2 separate regions of the Homo sapiens genome follow, and region 2 is linked to region 1. The links are contacts of gene promoters, found by promoter capture Hi-C in human tissues and cell types (Jung and others, 2019). All regions are on one chromosome and are shown on one strand. The core of a region is centred on a gene start or on the middle of the fragment in contact, and the rest is flanking DNA. Distances in the headings are between cores, read along the strand shown.

Evidence for each region. The method cuts DNA at HindIII sites, captures the fragments that hold promoters and counts their contacts. A contact is called where the count stands out against the background at its distance.
Region 2: the fragment with the promoter of CADM1 here is called in contact with the fragment with the promoter of C11orf71 in region 1 in 1 of the 25 tissues and cell types used here (hippocampus).

The regions. Positions count from the first base shown.
Region 1 is chr11:114,398,975-114,405,611 of GRCh38, forward strand. It overlaps C11orf71 (chromosome 11 open reading frame 71), which reads right to left and starts at 1,537. Exons shown (of 1, transcript NM_001271562.2): 1 at 1-1,537. The coding sequence starts at 1,357. The coding sequence ends at 986. It overlaps RBM7 (RNA binding motif protein 7), which reads left to right and starts at 1,692. Exons shown (of 5, transcript NM_001286045.2): 1 at 1,692-1,793; 2 at 2,724-2,886; 3 at 3,854-3,941. The coding sequence starts at 1,698. RefSeq lists enhancers at 779-1,321, 1,035-1,424, 1,322-1,864. The HindIII fragment of the contact is 14,324 bases long and covers 1-6,637 here.
Region 2 is chr11:115,500,701-115,507,337 of GRCh38, forward strand. It overlaps CADM1 (cell adhesion molecule 1), which reads right to left and starts at 3,715. Exons shown (of 12, transcript NM_001301043.2): 1 at 3,571-3,715. The coding sequence starts at 3,694. RefSeq lists a silencer at 3,741-3,900. The HindIII fragment of the contact is 7,329 bases long and covers 771-6,637 here.

The DNA.
Region 1 (6,637 bases), core at 287-2,786:
TAAGAGAACAAAAATAACAGCAAATAAGGAGTGATCAGCCAGGTAAGAGAAGAACCAGGATAGTGCAGTATTATGATGAAAAAAAAAAAAAAAAAGTCACTGCAACCAGTACTTATGTTTATTACTGTACCTAATAAACAGCCCAGCGTGGTGATTCCTATTCACTTAGTAGCCTCCCCATCTAGAATATACTCCGTGATCTTTCTTGATGGCCAGACTGTGTAAAATTCATACAGTGTTTACTACAGGGATCCCCAAATATTGTTAGTTGAATGAACAAACACACATTTCAAGGAGGGCACTACAGTGAGTAGATGAACAGTTTTCTGATAGGAGATTGTACAAGTAATGTTTTCACCAGTGTATTTTAGGACAGCAGATTCAGATTAATGCGCTGGGACTGAATGCAAATAGTAAAATTACAAATATAAAGTAAAAATTTGGAACCTTTGCCAAAGAAAGGAATAATAAATTGATTTAATAATTTGAAAGAACTGTAAGGTTTAGGTTTTGTTCTTATTTTTAGTGCGACTGAGATTGGAGTCTGTTTGTAGACATATCTGAAAAAAGTGAAGGGGGAGATGGAAGATGGTAAATGCCAAGGAAAAGATGGAAGGATAAATCAGTGTAATAAAAAGGAGCACTTCTTTTTCGCCAACAGAAGTAAAGGTAAAGGTTAAGTGTCTGAGTTAACGAATGGATTGTTGACCTCTGGGGAGGGTGCTCCCATCAGCTCAGCTTTGTGACGACCTAAGAATATCCCTTCCACACCTTTCCTGATCCAATCGTTCTGGCTGCATAAAACCACCTAAATCAATCAACTGTTACACTTCCCTTAGTGCTAGGACATATTCATATAACTCCCACGTATTAAATGAAAATACATCCATCTAAAAATAAAACAACACGATTGCTGCTACACCAAGAAAGGATTTTAAAAAGGCCTGTTCACAAGCTAAGTGAGGGCCAGAGGAAAGGTGTTCGTTTAAACTGAAATTCGAGCTGCGATAACACCTCCTAATGCAATCAAACGCTGTTGCAGCACACTTCTTAGGAGATCGGGTTCAACGGCAGGGATTGGGTAAGGTGAGAATCTGGCTTGGCGGCTCCGGCCCCGGCCATCTGGTTCCCTTGGGCTCCGGCCGCCACCATCCACTCGACGGCTCTCGGCCCGAACGCTTGGTCGCACCGCCTGCCGAGGTCCTAGATGAATCGCTTCAGGCCTGGAAACGAGGAAGCCGTCTCCGGAGACCATCGCCAACGCTGACGCCCGCGGTCTGAGGTCGCCATGGGAAGAGCGGTAGGCCACCCTGCTCCTCTGATCACCGGAGGACAGGGACACATTGTTCAGGGCCATATTCAAACACTGCCCGCAGTACTTGCGTTACGTCCCTTTGTGAAGGCAGGCCCTTCGCGGCTCCCCAGATCAGTCCAGCCTGTGTCGGACCCGATGACTAAGCACACAGGAACCCATAACTGAGCCTGCGGAAGAGCCAGAAGCCGCCTTGCCTTTAACGAGGGGTATCCTGGCGAGCATGCGCAGACCGTCCGCGCACGTCGTCGCCCGCTGAGAGCAAGCGCAACGGGCGTTTTCGTTTGTGACGCCAGGGAGCGTGAGGACGTGGGGCTTCCGTGAATGCGCAGTGGGTGCGTCGGCCACGACCTTTTGGCCAGGTTAGGGAGGGGGCGACGCTGAGATGGGGGCGGCGGCGGCGGAAGCGGATCGCACTCTCTTTGTGGGCAACCTTGAAACGAAAGTGACCGAGGAGCTCCTTTTCGAGCTTTTCCACCAGGTAAGCGGCTGGGTTCGGCCCTTTGCCTTTCGTTTTCCGTCTCGCCTAGGGCCTGGCCAGCGGCCACCCCGTTTTCTTTTCGTAGCCGTCAGGGGACCCGACGGGTGGCTGTTTGGGGGTGAAAGGCGGGTCTGGGTTGCGAAACGCTCGCTGGGTGTCGCTTTCCTGGAAGATCTTGGTTCGTTTAGGCCGAAAGTGACGACTAAAGGTGGTGGAGGGATCCTCGATCAGGTTTCCCGTGGTAGAGATCCAGGGGTCCTTGGGAACACAGTGTGTGTGTAGGGTCTTCGTTGAGCAGTGCTTTTTCTTATCCTTCCTGTTGTCATCTTCCCCTTAGGATAATTTGTCTTTGGTTTATCTGACTGGGAACTTAATATTTTAATTTATTTGTGTCTGTTTTCCCCTAAAGTTTGCTTATCAAATTGCAGCATTATTAAAATATGTAAAATAAAATGGTTAAGTACTCCGTAGAAAAACAGCATTTTAGTGTTGCTGTATTAAAAAGTGTGAAAAATTCTGAGTATCCTATTCCCCCCATCCCTATCCCCTAATAACTGGTATTGTTTGATTAATCAATACAAAAGTCCGTTTTTAGTTAAAGAAAATCATTCTCTTGTTCTTGATAAATGTTCATTTTCATGGAGTGGCAAAATAATGGCGATTGGTCACTATGTTAAGCCATACAGTGCTGTGAATTGCAAAAGTGATTGTGTTTCCAGTTCCTTATGGGCCCCCTTCCCCAAATAAATCTAATGTTCAGTCATAACTAGGATGTTTACTGTAGCCAAAATGGAAATCCGTGCATCATTTTCAAAAGAAGTTTCTGATTACGTTTCTGTTGTTTTTAAACTTTGTCATATCTTATTTGTAAAATTTGAGTATTTTCCCTTAGTTGCTTTATTTAAATTCTAAACACCTTTTTGTTTGTAGGCTGGGCCAGTAATAAAGGTGAAAATTCCAAAAGATAAGGATGGTAAACCAAAGCAGTTTGCGTTTGTGAATTTCAAACATGAAGTGTCTGTTCCTTATGCAATGAATCTACTTAATGGAATCAAACTTTATGGAAGGCCTATCAAAATTCAATTTAGATCAGGTAACTGCCCAATGAGGTTCGGGGGGCATTGTTTCCTGCTGTTTTTAAATTTATTATTCAGTTTTAAAGAACCTCTTATTTGTAGATGAAACTTCTTTCTTAAGCATTGTGAATAGTAAACTTTATATAGCAAACTTTATATATCCCTGAAAACGGGTAACATTGACACATGGATTTTGAAATTAGAATTTCAAAACTGAGCTTAAAGTTTCATTTTGGGTTAGTGAAAAAACATAAACTGTATCACTAAGAGAGCTGGGCTTGGGTACTCTGAAAAGAGCTAGGTTTATTTTCTGAAAATACTTCTCCTGGCTGCTTTGTAATTACTTTTATATATTTTGGTTCTTGATCATGTGAGGATGAAACTGTCCATGTATCCAGTGTTACAATTTAGGGTGGAGATCAGAAAATTATGGTCAGATTGGATATTTATGGAGTGCTTTGTTTTGCTTATCTGATATTATACACTTATAATTTTCACCCCGATGAAGCCGTAAAGCGGTCTACAGCAGCTTGAGATTCTTTTTTTTTTTTTTTTTTTTTTTTTTTTTTTTTTTTTTTGAGATGGAGTCTTGCCCTGTTGCCTAGGCTGGAGTGCAGTGGTGCAATTTCAGCTCACTGCAACCTCTGCCTCCCAGGTTCAAGTGATTCTCCTGCCTTAGCCTCCTGAGTAGCTGGGATTACAGGTGCACGCCACCACGCCTGGCTAATTCTTTGTATTTTTAGTAGAGGTGGGGTTTCACCATGTTGGTCAGGCTGGTCTCGAACTCCTGGCCTCGAGAGATGTGCCCACGTCAGCCTCCCAAAGTGCTGGGATTACAGGCGTCAGCCACCGCGCCCGGCCAGTAGTTTGAGATTTTTCTCTTTTAGATTGTGTTTACCTTTTTGGAGTGATTTCAAGTGGGGAAGACAAAATTTCAAATTAGATTTTCTATCAAGAATAATTTTTCAAATTGTTTCATTTTAGGAAGTAGTCATGCCCCACAAGATGTCAGTTTGTCATATCCCCAACATCATGTTGGAAATTCAAGCCCTACCTCCACATCTCCTAGCAGGTAATATTTCTCACTTATTGTTAAGATCATTTATCAGGAATTCTTATAGGGAATAGCCTCAAAACACATGAGTAAATAGTCTCCTTCATTATTCTCTTATCTCTTCATTCTGCCGTTATTACTTGCCTTTTGGGGTTGTTGTTATGTATCTATTCTAAGGGGTATAGAATGTGTCTATTCTATAGACAAACACATTGTATATAGTCCCCTTAGAATAGATACGTATATAACTATTTGTTGATTTGTAGCGACATAACCATACCCACATATGTGTACAGTACATGTATACACTTGAAACAAAATTTCTCAAAACATTATTTACCCTCACTACTTGGATTACTATTTCATTTAAAACATTTTAAAATTTATTTTACAGTCATTAATTGGTTGTTACTTACAGTTGAAAAATACCAGTTAGTCAACAGTCTATTGGACTAAGAATTCCTAGAATTGGATTCTAGGTCTGCATCTATCAATTGTGTAATCTTGAGCTAGTCTCCTTTCTTTAGTCCCGTCTTCCCATGTGTAAGGAAAATAAGTTGAATTAAATGATTTGTAAAATCTCTTCAGGTACTGAGTATTAGAAAATATCATATTTACTTAAATGATTTTATTTGCTTTGGGGAGGTTCATATTTTACCAGGGACAATTTTTCCCGGTATATCCATAAAGCTATTTAACAGTCATTTAAGAAAGATTTAATAAATACCTGCCATATGTCAGGTTCTTCACCATATCTTTTACATATATGATTTCATTTATTCCTCACAGCAGTTTTATGAGGGTAGGGATTATTTTTATCTCTACCTCTTATATGAAGGGAAATGAAAAATGGAGGTTAACTTGCTCAGGTTCAGTGGGCTGGGATTCAAACCCAGGCAGTGTAGTGTGATTGAGCCCAGCCACTATGATGTATTATCTAGAGGAGCTTAAAGTCTAAATGAAGACACATATTATATATATTTTTGTGAATACCTGTTCAATTACTGTAATAAGTTCTCTAAAGAAAGAGTACAAAGGGCTTTGAGAAAATTTTAAGAGAAGGAGATGATATAGATGAATGTGGAACTGAAAGAAGCCAGTGTACCTAGATCATAATGAATGAAAATGGAGAGCAGTAGGGGATTTTGGTAGATAGGCTGGAGAGGGTCTTTTAAACTATAATCAGGATTTTGAGATTTTACCCTAAAATGGAGTAGGAAGGCAGTGAAATGTTTTAGGTAGGGTACTGATAGGAACAAGTTTATATTTTAAGAGTTGTTTGGTTGCAGTGGGAGAATGGATTGGAGGGGGCAAGAGTGAAAATAGAGCAGTGAGGAAGCTTTTGGTAGCAAGGCATTGATGTTGGAAGCTATTGATGGATGAGGTTGATAGTTTAGATTAAGGTGGTGCCATGAGCTGGAGAGAAGTGGATGGATATGAAGAGATACTAGAAAGTGGAATAGTGAGCCAGCAATAGTGCAAAAAGTGTACCCTCCCGGTGTTCTTTCTTGCCAGCTGAAATTAATTAACAGTGTTTAAACATTTCTTGGTAAAGTTGGCATTTAAAGCACTTCCAGCCCCTTTAATGGAGTCTTCAAAGGCATCCTAGGTAGAGGAAAATAAAAAGTTTTCCCTCTTAGAATTTCTTGGGGAGAAAAAACCAGGTGCAGTGACCCATTCGTATAGTCCCAGCTACTTGGAAGGCTGTGGTGGGAGGACCACTTGAGGCCTTGAGTTTGGGACTAGCCTAGGCAACATAACAAGGCACTCTCTCTATTTAAAGAATTTCTTTGAAAAAAAAAAAGTACAAGTAAATACTTTGGTTTTAATCAAAGGCTAGAGAGTTTATAATTTTTATACTATAAACTAAATTGTACTGCCCCCCTCAGCATACAGATAATATAACCTGATTTGAAAAAACGCAAAATTAAAAGATCCAAAGTGTAAGACCAGCCAATTGGCTATTTGATTCTAAAGACATTTAAAAATAATTTAAAACATTTTTAAAGTGAGCTTTTCTGTAGAGCAAGTTATCCCTTTAATAAATAGGGAATAAGGTATAAATCCTCAAAAGTAATATCCTATGTATGTTACAGAACTCTTAATTCCTTACCTCCCAAAACCTCTTTCTCTTTTTTGTCTCGGGAAATATCTACCTAATTGCTCAAGCCAAGTCTAGATTTGATCCTTTGTTTCTTCCCTCATTCCACATATCCAGTCGATCAAATTCTTTTCATTTTAGTTTTCAATCTAGGTCTTTGCATTAGCTCAGGGACTGACAAATTATTTCTAGAAAGGACCATATAGTTAATATTTTAGACTTTGCAGAAGATACTGTTTCTGTCTCTGCCATTGTAGCACTAAAGTAGCCATAGATAATACAAAAACAATGGTGTGGCTATGTTCCAGTAACACTTTGTTTAGGGAAAACTGAATTTGGCAGTTTGGCCCACTGGCTATACTTGCTCACCCCTGCACTAGTCCTTCAGCTGGGAAGTTTTTGCCTCTAGGTAACCTTGGTGTTCAGTTCTAACTACAAATGTCACCTTTTTAGAAAGGCAGTCGCTCACCAGCTAAAAGATAGGGGAACCTCCTATCTGTTTCACTTCCACTTGATCTTTAATCATACGTTTTATCACTTAAAATCATGAGAAAATATCCTGTTGTCTGTATTCTTATTCTGGCTGCATGAGAGCAGATACCTTTCCTGTCTT
Region 2 (6,637 bases), core at 2,465-4,964, 1.1 Mb after region 1:
TTCAACCAATATATCCTCCAACAACATCAACCTCAACAGGTAGCTAGCATTGTCTTCTGTTGAAATTTAGAGCTGGAAGAAAGGATTTCACAATCTCTCTGTGGAGACCCAGGAATCCGTTACCTTCTGGGATTTTAGAGAGTGTGGAGAGAGATGAGCAGGCAGTGAGCCGGGGACCAACTCCGATAAGAATATGAAGTCAGGAAGTGAGAGAGGAAACGAAAGTGTCCTGCCTGTTGGCGTCTTCCCTGTCCCACTCCCCTTTACCAGGAGGGCCATTGGGGAAAACTGGATAAAGCATGTACAACATCCATATGAATAAAGCTCTTTGTTCCAGAGAACTGCCTGCTCTTTTATTCCCCCCCTTTTTCGTATTTGTTCATTTCAAAAGATTGCTCAATGGGTCTCTTGTTCCTCCAAAACGTCCCAGGCAAATAATGCAAGCTTGTCTCGTCACACAAGTCACTAAATGAAGCCTTGTGCGTCTCCAGTGACACACTGTAAATATAAAGTGGCATTAATGAGGGATATTTTATCAAATCTATCACAGACAAGTGCAAGTCCCTACTGCGGCTATTCAATCTGATGCAGGGAAAGGCAACAATAACAGGGCGGCACTTTTGTAAAGTCTCTATCCCCGGTTTGCAAGCCCCAACAGGCCAAAGCAAGCAAAAGTCAGCCCCCCTCCTTCCCATCACCACCATAAATCCCCCATCCACCAGCCATCTTCTCTAATCCTGAAAATGATAAGAGGGGGGTGATCAGCTACTGGTTCACTCGGGATCGTAAACAACATCATGCATGCACCTTGAACGTATAACAGGCGTGATTAACACTGTGGAGTGAGCTTAAGCAAACCCATTTTTACTGCATTTCATTAACATCCATTTCATCCAAACATCACAGGAGAAATGAGAGGAGATTTTCTGCGGGGGATGGATGGCTTCAGTTACAGGAGAAAACAGAACCAGGACCCACGCACGATGGTCCTAATTCGCTTTCCCAGCAAGGATGTAAACGAAACAAGCCTAATGAAGTCAGATGCACCAACAGGTTTCTTTAACCCTGGGAGTGGGAACTGGAGGCCTCTGAGAAAGCTTAAACAGAACTGAGGAGGAAAAGTCCCTTGGTGCCCACCTGAAATTTACCCCTGGGGTATGGGACCCCGGAATGAGCCAAGACCTCCTCTCAAACTCACCACGAAATATATATATATGCATTAAGAGAAAAAAATTAAGAAAGTCATCTCATCTCCTCACTACAAATCATACCCAATTACTTTCTAATTTGAACACAATCTGATAACCAGCATACAAACAGGGATGTACACAAGAGCAAGAAGCTGCTTCCATGGTAACTGGCAACAGAATTTTCATGTAGCTTTGACATGCACGGTTGAGTTCCAGACCGCTCCTAAGTCAGCATATATCCCTCGCAGGGAAGGCAACTTCTCACCGCGAGATAGTTACAAATATAGTACCGTTGCTACTACCCGGTGCCTTCAATGAGCAGTCTTGACAGGGGAGGCATAATCTAATCCTACTTCTGCTGCCAAGCGTCATTGCACGACTCCCATTTTTAGTCAAAAAGCAATATCCCCGACCACAGCTTTCCACCGCCCCCCGGCTTTTTTTTTTTTTTTTTTTTTTTTTTTTGCAGCCAATACAAGTCTATTGTTGCCTCTATTATGCGCCAGTTACCGAGCCTTTACTCACGCTCACGTTTAACTGACACTGGCGCTTTTTACAATGCAGCAGCACGAGGGATCTCTTTCAGGAACATTTTATTGAACCCATCCAGTCAGAGGCATCACCTGAAATGAAGTTGTAACCACACCGGCATCGGCTGAACCCAATTATCTCGTAACTCATAAATTAAGAATTCACAGAGGAAAAACACATAAACAACATCCGGAGACAGTGGCATGGAGGAAAAAAACCCTCAGCGCTGGAATTGACGCTGCTGCCAGACGCCCCCCAATAGGTTTCCCAAGCCGAGCTCCTTTGCAAGCCTATTTTGGGGGCAAGCAGCCAACCCGGCGTCCCCCAAATCTCAAGCTAGCACCCCCACACATCCCCCGTCTCCTACAGCGTGTCTCCTGCGGTGTTTACATAACTGTGTGTCCTCTAGCGTGTAAACAAAAGGCACAGCCCAAGCGGAGAGGCGCCCCTGAAGCAGCACCGTGGCCCCAACGCTGTGCCCGCCCGGGCCTGGGGCTCCGCAGGTGGGGGCTGAGCTCTCGGCGTCCTCCGCCACTTGTTGCTCCCGGGTCCTGCAGCTCTGGAGCTGCAAGGAGGGGCTTTGCAGGCTCAGAGCCCTGCTGCATCCCCTCCTGCATCGCCGCTCGCACCCCGCGGCCCCGTGCCACTCGGTCCCGGCGCCCGCCTGGAGCCTGCAGCAGGGGCCAGAGGACGCCGCGCGGCTGCCAAGCGCGGCGAGGTGGCGGGAAGGGAGGCTGGGTGCAGCACAGCCGGCCTCTCCGCTGAGGAAGAGCTCCGGCTCCCTTTTGTTAGCAAAAGCAAACACTGCCCTCTTCTTTCCCGACCGCGCCAACGCGCCCGGCACACGGGCAGCCACACATCGGGCTCCAGCCGAGTGCTCGGTGTCTTCAGGGAAGGCACCGGGCGTGCAGAGCCGCCCCTGGGCAAATTCCCAAGACTGCTCTTCACGCAGGGAGCGCGCGGAGGCCCGCAGGGTGCCCGCCTGGCCGCAGAGGCCGCGACGCCCCCTCCGCCACCCTCGGGCCGCCGAAAGAACGGGCAGCCGGGAAATCCCGTGTCCCCACTCGTGGCAGAGGACGCTGTGGGGCGGGCGGGCTGCGGGCTCCCGGCGCCTTCCCGCAGAGGCGGCGACAGCGGCCGCCCCCCCCGCGGGGCCGGGCCGGGGAACTTTCCCCGCCTGGAGCCGGGCCAAAAAGACCCGCAGCAGAGCCGAGGGGGCGGAGGGCTGCGAACGGCCGGAGGGAAACACGAGAGGCGTGCAGTTTGGGGACAGGGGAGAAAGGCAGAGCGCGTTGGGGGAAGGGGCAGGGGAGATCAGACAAGTCTGGGGATGTCCTGGGGACCGGGGAGAAATCACGCCGCGGGCGGCTGGGAGTCAGCCACCAGGAGGCTTCGGGGATGGAGAACTGGGGGGGCCCTCTGGAGAGGTGGGGGCGAATGGACAGCCCTGGGAGGTGGGAGGACCTGCAAGTTACGGGGAGAACGGCGAGTTTAGAAGGGTCCGGAAGGGTTGAGGTTGTCTTTGAACCATCCCCTTCCCCCATGCTTTACAGCCCCCGGGCCCCCCATTCTCACTCCACTCTGCACCCCGCGCCAAGCCGGGGAGAGAAGGTGTGGGTGCAGCCATCCCTGGGGACTCTCATTCACACTTAGCCGGGCAGGGGAGAAGGGGCTCACAGATGCCCTCAGCCCCTTCCCTCTCAGCCCTGAGTTTCCTCTCCACACTCCCTCCGCTTCGGATGTAGGAAGTGGGGGGAGGTTGTCATGGAAACGTTTCCCCCCTCTGTGGCCAAGGCTACTGGGGTGCCTTCGGAGATTTAGGGGCCAACCGGTCGGTGCCCACACCTACCTGTGGGGATCAGTGCCGCGGCGGAGAAGAGCAACAGCAGAAGCCGGAGCCGGAGCCCGGGAGGCGCCGCCGCCGCCGCTGCCGCCGCACACTGGGATCCGCTCGGCAGCACTACACTCGCCATGTCGGGCACCTGCCTCAGACTGGCGGCGTTGGCTGCCTCCGGAGCCCGAGCGGACAGCTAATGAGATGCTAATGACATGCGCTGGAGGCGGAGTCCGGGCAGACCAATCACAGCGCCGCGAGCCCAACCCGGCTCTCGGAGGGCCTCGCTCCCTCCCCCACCCCGCCCCCTGGCGCTGGCGTTCGGCGGCGCGCCCGCGCCACCTAGGGGCGGGGCCAAGGGGAGGGGCGTATGCAAATATGTTTATGTTAAAATTCGGGTTTTGCTTTCCCCGGATCAAGGAAAAAGTGTTCTCCCGGGCGCCTGGCGTGCAAGGACTCGGGCTCCAGGGGGCGGGTCTAGCTTCTTGTACACCTTTATTAGGAATGTTTATAGCAATCGCTGTATCAGACCGACGACTGGAGAATCTCCCTTAAGAGGGTCCTCTGTCCCGCACACCGAGTGCATCTGGCCTAGCGAACCAGACGTTGCAAATTTCCGTCACTCACCTTGCACCGAAGGAATAGATCTTTGGGAACGGGGGCTGTGCGGGAGTGGAGAGTAAGAAGGCAGGTCCCCGGATTGACAAAACAATCTGGGAGAAGTGCATGCGTGCTTTGCACGTCCGGCGGAGCGGGAGAGCCCGCTCAACAGCCTAGCGGTAGACTCGGGGATAGTTGGAGAAGGCAGCCGTAGAGTCGGGTTCTGAGATTTTCCAGTCGGTCTTTTTGCGGCAGAATCTCGGGAAAGGTAGATCGAGGAGGGTATGCTCAGGCTCCTCCGCTTGTCGAGGGTCTCCTCCCTGGTTTTAATATATAGGTGTGTGTTGAATATATGTGTGAAATATTTGTAATATTAGATATTTAAGATTACACAACAACGGAAAAAATTAGTCAAGGCTTCAGGTGAAGAGCGGGGGTGGTGGGAGTTGGGGAGAGGGAGTGTGGTGAAGGCAGGGTCTGCCGTGTTCCTCCTTCGGGGCTCAAACCCTCTCACTCCTCCTCTGCGCCCCCAGCCCTTCCTAAGGAAGCTGGGGACCAACAGGTGCTCCGAGCTTCCCCTGTCTCTGGGAGAGCCTCTCCTGCTAAAGCGACTTGCATCTCCGGACTCACTCTCCCTCCCCGAAATTCTCTTTGCTTTCTTTTCAGCCAGGCAGCCGGCTCTCTTGTTTGTCTGCTTTTTAATTACTTATTTTCTTCCCCTCTAGAAGATCGTGTGCGCTCTGACCCTCTGTTGCTCAAGCATCAAATTGAAGGACGAGCCATATTAAGTGTAAAGGTTTATAATAATTTAAGTATTCATAGAATGCAGAACAATAAGATGTAGGAAATACAATTTGCATAATAAATATCAATATCACAACAGCTAAAACAAACCATGACAAATTATCTGTGGCTAAATGACCAAGAGATTACTGAATGTAAATTGCTAAGTCTGAGCTATAGTCTAGAAGAGCTGCGCCAAATGACTTCCCCAGCCTTCTGTCCTCATCTTGCTATAAAATAAATAAATAATACATATCAAAAAGGAAGTCATGATCTGCCAACCCACCAAATGAGTTACACTTAAAAACAGCCTCCTATTATCCATTATGCATAAACTAATTTCGAGACTGCCCGGTCTTCACAGCCCTGGATATTCTGCTCTGTAATTACAGGCCCCGATGCATGAACTGCAGGCAGTCCTTCAGAAGTGGGGAAAGCTCCAACAGGAGAACAGCACTACAGGAGACAGGAAACCATTGCCACGTGGGTGCCAGGATAATGCCCAGTCTGCAAAGTCCTACCCGTTCTTACTACCTCTGGCAGTGAGGTACCTGGGTCGGACCAAATAGAGAGCAAAGTTCCACCAAAATTGGAATAAAAAAGTTAAGGCCAGCCGGGCACGCTGACTGATGCCTGTAATCCCAGCACTTTGGGAGGTTGAGGCAGATGGATCACCTGAGGTCAGGAGTTCGAGATCAACCTGGCCAACACGGCGAAACTCCGTCTCTAATAAAAATACAAAAATTAGCCAGGCGTGATGACACACACCTGTAATCCCAGCTACTCAGGAGGCTCAGGCAGGAGGATCACTTGAACCCAGGAGGCGGAGGTTGCAGTGAGCTGAGATCGCATCATTGCACTCCAGCCTGGGCGACAAGAGTGAAACTCCGTCTCAAAAAAAAAAAAGTAAGGCCATATGTATGCTGAAAGTGATATGTAAACTATAAAGGCAGGTCCTATATGGCAAGAATCCTGACACAGAGCCTGGCACATAGTAACATTATTATCTGCCGTTACTATTATTACTACTCTTGCATTCACTGAATTCTTAAGTATTCTACATGCAAAATCTCATTTAATACTTGAAACAATCCCCAAGGTACATACTATTATCTTTCATTTTATATTTTTTAAACATGATTAGAAAGATTAAGTAACTGCCCTAAGATTACAGTCTCTAACTTGCAGAAAGAGCCTATGCAATTAACCACTGTGCCTTTCTAAATATCCGTAAAGTGAATGAATAAATTTCACATTACAATGCATGAATAATAAGCAAAGGATAGCTACATTTTTAACATAAGATGAAAATATGCCAGCAACCCAGAAACATTTTTTTTTTTAACTAACAGAATTGCAGTATACTCCTAAGGAAAAACATTCCTCATGAAGCTGAATCTCCAGGAGAATCTAGCCAGGCCCCAGTCCTCCCACACTCGGAACACAGTATGGGGACATTGGAAGATGTAGGGTGTTTTCATCTCCCTTCATTCTCTTGGCACATCAAATGAACACCTACTCAAATTTCCAGTTGGCAAAGAACAACATGGGACATTTCTGTAGGAAATGCTAATGTCGTATGATTTACCTCACTAGAGGAATGCAAATAGCTTTAGAAATTTCCACCAAAATGTCCCCTGTGCCATAAGGTTAAGGAACTTGCACGTACAATTCCCCAGGTAAAGAAACTGAGTCCTGG